2 separate regions of the Homo sapiens genome follow, and region 2 is linked to region 1. The links are contacts of gene promoters, found by promoter capture Hi-C in human tissues and cell types (Jung and others, 2019). All regions are on one chromosome and are shown on one strand. The core of a region is centred on a gene start or on the middle of the fragment in contact, and the rest is flanking DNA. Distances in the headings are between cores, read along the strand shown.

What was found. The method cuts DNA at HindIII sites, captures the fragments that hold promoters and counts their contacts. A contact is called where the count stands out against the background at its distance.
Region 2: a fragment that was not itself captured here is called in contact with the fragment with the promoter of PREP in region 1 in 2 of the 25 tissues and cell types used here (H1 embryonic stem cells and heart left ventricle).

The regions. Positions count from the first base shown.
Region 1 is chr6:105,401,203-105,404,513 of GRCh38, reverse strand. PREP (prolyl endopeptidase) reads left to right here and starts at 1,432. Exons shown (of 15, transcript NM_002726.5): 1 at 1,432-1,667. The coding sequence starts at 1,623. RefSeq lists a silencer at 1,155-1,724. The HindIII fragment of the contact is 9,128 bases long and covers 1-3,311 here.
Region 2 is chr6:105,059,875-105,063,344 of GRCh38, reverse strand. All of the region lies in intron 3 of LIN28B (lin-28 RNA binding posttranscriptional regulator B), which reads right to left. Among named protein-coding and RNA genes, the nearest start is that of POPDC1, 76 kb to the left of the region's middle. The HindIII fragment of the contact is 5,121 bases long and covers 1-3,470 here.

The DNA.
Region 1 (3,311 bases), core at 183-2,682:
TAGATAGTTTCCTGATACACTGAAAAAAACACTCCATAAGCATTAATATTATCATTAGGGGGTCTGCTGGGTCAAGTGCTCCTGGGTTGCTCTTTAAAAAATCCCTCACAGTGGCAGAAGGAGGAGACAATGCCTGCCAGTCCCTGCGTCAGGTGACAGCCAGGGAAGGCACGAGGTGGGAACTGGAATTGGGACTTCTGGGCTGTAGTGGGCTATGCCCCCGTGTTTGCACAAAGTTTGTTATCAATAGCGTGAGTTCTCCCAGAATTGAGGATTCTCAGATTGCCCCAGGAGGGGGTATCTGGGATCAGATGCAGAAAATGATTATGACACATCACTATGAACAGAAATGGTGAACTAAGGGTGAGGCATGGAATTGGGACCATATCACAAAAGAGACGGAGGACACAAGTTTATAATAGTTACCATATCCACTTAGATTCCGGAGGTGAAGGACTTTCTGGTCACACCTATTCTTTCTTCCAGGACTTTTTGGAAGCCAGGGATAGAAAACACACTGGGCACACACTATACCCCTGATGGCTGGGGCTATAAAGTCTCTTCTGGGTGGTCCAGGAAGCAAGACCAGAACACATACCGCTGCTGGCCCGAGGATGATGACATGTAACTATTAAATTTTCATGGGTTTGAGGTCAAGTATCTTGTCTATTATCTTTTCTTCCCATAAACAGTAGGTGCTCAATAAACAAGCATGACAGCAGGAGAGGAAATGAGGAAAAGGCAGGATAAATAAAATACCCCTGATGAGTTCCAGGCCTCTTAATCTTGGTTCTTTCTCAATCGGTAAATATCAAATAAGGGCTCAACCGTAGTCCTGCCAACACCTCCAAAGCATCTCCATAGTCCGGATGCTAAACCACCCAGTGTCCACCAGGGGTCCTGGGATGAAGGGAGACGTGTTTCTTTCACGGTCATCATGATCGATTACTTCTTCCCTTCAAGTCCAGAGTCGCAGGCAGTGGACATAAGGCCACCTCCAGCCCTCTGCTTCCAAGGCTGGGGAGAGGCAAGGTCTCCCTTCGCCGCCGTAACCAGCCCGGGAACAGGAAGGCTGGGGAAGGTGGGGGACTCCATCAGCAAGGAAACCCTGGGGCTTCACTCTCCTACAGGCGGTCCTGCGAGCGCGGCCAAAGAGAGGCAGGGCGCTAGGGAAGGCGCGGGGACCCGGCCTCGGTGGAAGGACTTGTCCCCGGCGCAGAGGACGGGCGGGCGGCCGGGCGTGGGCGAGCGCGTAGCCGGCGTGCTCCTCCGTGCGCCCGGGCGGCGCGGGCGCGGCCGGCGATCCTGCAGAGGGAGCTGTGCGCCGGCCTTAGCGCACGCTCGGTGCCGCCCGCTCCCTCTTGCCGCCGCCGCCGCCGCTGGGCCCGCCCGCCGGGGAGGGGCTCCCGGCCTCGCAGACAGCGGCTTCCTGCTTTCTGCACGTCCTCGCCGCCGCGCCGCCAGTCCGTTTGTGCTAGCTCTGGCCGTGAGCCGGCCGCCCGCTGCCGCCGGCCGCCCCGCAGCTGCCTGCGCCCCAGCCGCGCCTCGCGGCCAGCCCGGCTAGCTCAGGTCCGCTCCCGGAGCCCGCGCCCCTCCACGCTGCCCCCTGCCTGTCCCCGGCCATGCTGTCCCTTCAGTACCCCGACGTGTACCGCGACGAGACCGCCGTAAGTATCTCTGCCTCCGCCCAGAGGGCTCCCGGGCAAAGGTGCCCAGCCTGCCTGACCCGTGGCACCCGCAGCTCCTCTTCCTGTAGGCCTTCGACCCCCGCGTCCCTCCCCTCCCCCTCGGCCTTTGTTTGGGAGAATTGGGCCGGGGGCGCGGGGCTCCTCTGCAGCGCTGGGGTCCCGCGGGCGGTCACTCTGCTAGTGCTGGCGGCGGAGCCTGTGGGCAGCGCCGCCCGGCCGCTTCCTAGAATCAATGGGGTCAAGGGCAGACGCCCGGGTAGAATGGGTGTCTTCAGGGAGTGGGAAGACAGACGGTGTCACTGCTTTTTTGACTGGCGAAGCCTCTTGCTTAAATATGGTGGTAGGAGAAAGTGTCCGCTGGGGTGTGTGTGTGTGTTTGTGTGTGTGTGTGTGTGTGTGTGTGTGTGATGTCACATTTAAAAACGAAAACAAACTTTTAAAACTTACACTTTAAAGTCCTTAGAGTTGAAGCATATTCGTTCGATTTTAAAAGGTGTGTTGAGCGCCTACCCTGTCCCAGGTCGGATGAGGCGCACTGGGCCCTGGGGATGCCAGAGACCCGGACAGAAATGGGGAAGGCGGAGCAGTGACCCCATAGTGTGGCCGTGCTGATCCATGTTTTCTTAAACAAGAAAAGGAGTTGAGAGAGGGTGAGAGGAGGTCTTAGAAGGGAGAGGGGTTGACCTTTTTCAGAATGAGTAAGTTTTGTCTAGTGGCGGAGTTGACCACCATTTGCCTAAGCTGCAGATGAACTCAAGGTAACTGTTGAGATCCAGTAGGCGGAATTCTGGGCAGACACCTTTTTTGTGTAAACGTGAATTTGACGACTTAGGAACTGGATTGCATCCACATGTTGTGGCCGTGATTCTCTTACTAATAGCTACATTTCTCAGATTACTTAAAATATAATCAGAATAAGTATGTATTTGTGTGATACAGTTTTAATGTTTTTCTGTTTACTTTCCCAATTTATGCCAGAAAGTGTTTACTTTAAAGCACGTGCTACATTGGGGTAAAGGGTGCTGACGCTTCGGAGTAAAGGACATACTGTTTTAAATTAAGACTTCCAAGTGACACTGATGCATTCATTCATGGTTTCTTTGACCAGTGGCCATCTGGTAACCATGTTTTCTCAGTCTGCTCAGCTGCTTGCTTATTAAATTTACCCTAACAGCTCAAGAAGCTCTATTCCTGTGGTTTAAAGGTTGTTTCCTTTGAATATGGGAGTAAAGTGATCCTGCTGGAATGGAGAAAGAGGCTGGACTAAATGAAAAGACCAGAGCGCTAGTTCTGGTTCTGTCATTCACTAGTTAGGTGACTTTTAGCAGCTCTTTTACCTGTTATGGGCCTTTTTTCTCATATGAGAAATATTTGGACTGACCATAGGGCTTACTTGCTTCTGCAGTAGGAATGTTGTCATTCATTCATTCATTCATGTGACAGTCTAGCTCTGCAGTGTTCCAGACTAGTAATGGGAAGCCAGGTGACTCTCTTGGTTCTGGTTCTTGAGGATCAGAATATAAAGAATTACCCATTCTGTGGTTTGATAAGTGCAGTTTTAAGTTTGTTTTTAGAGTTACTTGTTAGTTTTTCACCACTGTGGGTGCCTAAATCCTACAGTTT
Region 2 (3,470 bases), core at 617-3,116, 340 kb after region 1:
TGTTTTTTATAATCTTTTTCTTTTTAACCTTACATTGAACACAGCTGAGAATTCAGAAATTTTCATTTCTGTCCATAATGGCAGAGAGAAGATGAATAAGAGCATAAATACAAAAAGATACCTAGCAGTACTCTAGACTCTAATTATAATGATGTAATTGTATAAACTAAATCTCAGAGTATGAGCCTTTATATAAGACAAATAAATAAATATTCACTGAATCAATGAGTAAACAATATTATTTCTAAGGACAAAAAGGAAATTTGTTACCCAGTTAGTCATTCTACAGGATGTCATCATGCAACATTTTTGGACAAAAATTTTTACTAAAAGAACACGTGACAGTATTTTACCTTTTATGAGGTTTGTACTAAGAAATTTACATAAGAAACCATACATAAGAAATATGGCTCATAAGTGGACAAATGCTTAAGGCACTGACTGAAAGGAAATAACATAGAAATGAAAAAAATCAATCAAATTGATCATTCTAATCAATGTCTAAAAATGAAAATGTTTTGTCATAGGCTAAAGAAAATGACCACCTTCTAACAAAATTACGAGCCCTGAAAACTTTCAAAAGTATTTCATTTTGAGGATGTAAATGCAAGAACCACCAAGAACAATAAGCTGGAACCTCTTAGAAACGTATTTGAAAACTGAATCAGTATTTCCAAAATAGGTATGTTCCAGGATCATTCATGCAGAATTACTTGCATTCAACGGAAATCACCCATTATGAAAATTAGTATCTTCATACCAGAAACACATGCAAGAAACATTTGAGTTTGTTAAATTCTTGCTAATTTCCAATGCAGTTTTTAAAGCAGGATTTGATTTATATATTTCTAAATTATTTGTAATATCACTTAAAAATATATTTTAAAACAGTCCATTGGGGTCAAATGGTAACTGTTGCTGACGACTGTTCTTCCTGGTATAGCAATGGCTAATAAAATGTAGATTTTGTTAAATGCTGTAAGATAGAAAGTGTTATGTCTTTTCCAAAAATGACATAATCAAAAACAAAACAAAACAGAACAATGACACAATCACAATTACTGAGAGCGAGAGGGATGACTTTGTAAAGGAGTTGGCCTGGCTGCAACATAGTACTTAAAAGTTATTTTAAAATGAGTAAGGTTTAGGCTGACTCTGAGAGCCCTGCCTCAGAGTCAGCCCTGCTCCGCAAGGAGCAGTACCATTTAAGAAAATATTCCGTCTAAAATAAATAAATACATTAGAATAAAAATAAAAATGAGTAAGGTTTAAATAGATGCAGAGATGGGAAAGAAAATATGCCAGGCAAATAAATGGCCTGAGTATAACACCGAAGTAGAAAAGTAGAGGACATGTTTAGGAAGGCAAGTTGGCTGGCTTGGAAAAGAAAATGGAAACGAAGACTACTGAGCAGAATATTAAATATATTTTACAATGTAATATTTTTAAAACTTTCATCTTACAGTAGAAAAAAAAACCCCTAAGTTTCAAAGTTTATGTACACATTGTTCATGACCTCAAATCTAATAAAAAAGGGAATCCAGGATTTCAGCCTGTAACTCAGATGGTGGTCCATGATAAAACCACCTAATCTCTCTGGGTTTCCTCATCTATAAGTAAGCTTCATACTTCAAGAATTCATTTTTGAAGATGAACATAATTTCCACTTACTTCATTTGGTTGCTGTTGGTCTTAAATGAGATACATATTTTAAAATGTTTTGTTAATTATAAACCTCCATATATAAATGGTAGGTGAAATTTCTCCACTAGTGTTAAGACAATTCATGGTAGATGAATTGAAGCCCTCATGAACTGGGGGGTGGGGGTGGGGGGAGCGAGAGCAAAAATAAATAGCAGAAGAAGCTTAAAATATTTTTCTCTTTACAAGAATGCTAAAGAGATCAAACTAAATAGCCCAATAATGATACAATATATATATCTTATGAATGCTCTATAATTAATTTCTATTTTCCATTCCTTTTATACTGGAATTTTCTTGACCATCTCCTACTGTTCCATTTTGATTAGATATTAGTAAATTAATTTGCTTTGTTGCAGATGCCATGCATTTCTTCCTGTATGTAGTTCACTGTCTAAATATTTAATATTTTTCTGCTTCACCCCTTGGAGTCCCTAAAAATCAAATTGCAGGGTAACTTAGTTCATATAAATTCTATCAGAAAATTTGCAGATAAAGGAAATGATAAAGTAGACTATCTTTGTGTAGTACAGTTTTAAGTACTGGGAATTTGCTGACTATTCCTATATTCTAGGGACTGTTCTTTCATCTGGTTTTCAGAATATTAAAGTGGTTTTCTTTCTACCTTACTGATATAATTTTCCTATCTTGTTCTCAGTACCTTTCTAGAGTCACCAAGATCTATACTTATATTTGTCTACCAACTCCCTTTTGAAAAATTAATCAACTTCCTATATACAAACTACTTTCTTTACTCTGATCACTCACAAATTATTCCCACTTTTATGTTTTCTTGTAATCTCAAACTCAACTCATCTCTTCAAGGTCATTTTGACCCAACCCTAGTTTCCAAATCTCTTCCAATAAGTTCTACATTTATCATTGCATTCACAGTGTTTACTGGTATAATACCTGGTTGGCTCAAAGAAATGGAAAAAGCACTATTGAAAAAGTCACTATATTTTGGGCTTTAAAACATCATGCTTACTGGAAGTCAACTCTCCTAAACCCATGAAGTCATCTCAGCTTCCTGTCTATTTGGGAGTAGATTCCTGATCTCTAGCCTTCATGCCATGTCACAGATCGGTCACTGTAACTGATACTCCAGGTGCATCTATCAGTCTGCTCATACCACTCAGTCACCAACCACTGTGACCCTATTTATATTACTGTGGATAATATAAATGAAACGAACAAACAAAAAATTAATTATAGGTCAAGCACAGTGGCTCACTCCTATAATCTCAACAACTTTGGGAGGCAGAGGTGGGCAGATCGCTTGAGCCCAGTAGGTTGAGGCTGCAGTGAGCCATGATCACACCACTGCACTCCAGCCTGGGCAAAAAGGCGAGACCCTATCTCAACAAAGAAACAAACAAACAAAAAAATGAATTAGCAAATCAGTCACCTTCACCTTGTATTATTAAAAAACAGAGTAAAAGGCTGGGCACGGTGGCTCACGCCTGTAATCCCAGCACTTTGGGAGGCCAAGGCAGGCGGATCACCTGAGGTTGGGAGTTCAAGACCAGCCTGACCAACATGGAGAAGCCCTGTCTCTACTAAAAATACAAAATTAGCCAGCCATGGTGGTGCATGTCTGTAATCTCAGCTACTCGGGAGGCTGAGGCAGGAGAATCGCTTGAACCTGGGAGGCGGAGGTTGTGGTGAGTTGAGATTGCACCATTGCACTCCAGCCTGGGCAACAAGAGCCAAACTCCATCTTAAAAAAAAAAAAATACAGTAACATGAGAATAAAGAAAATGAAAAGG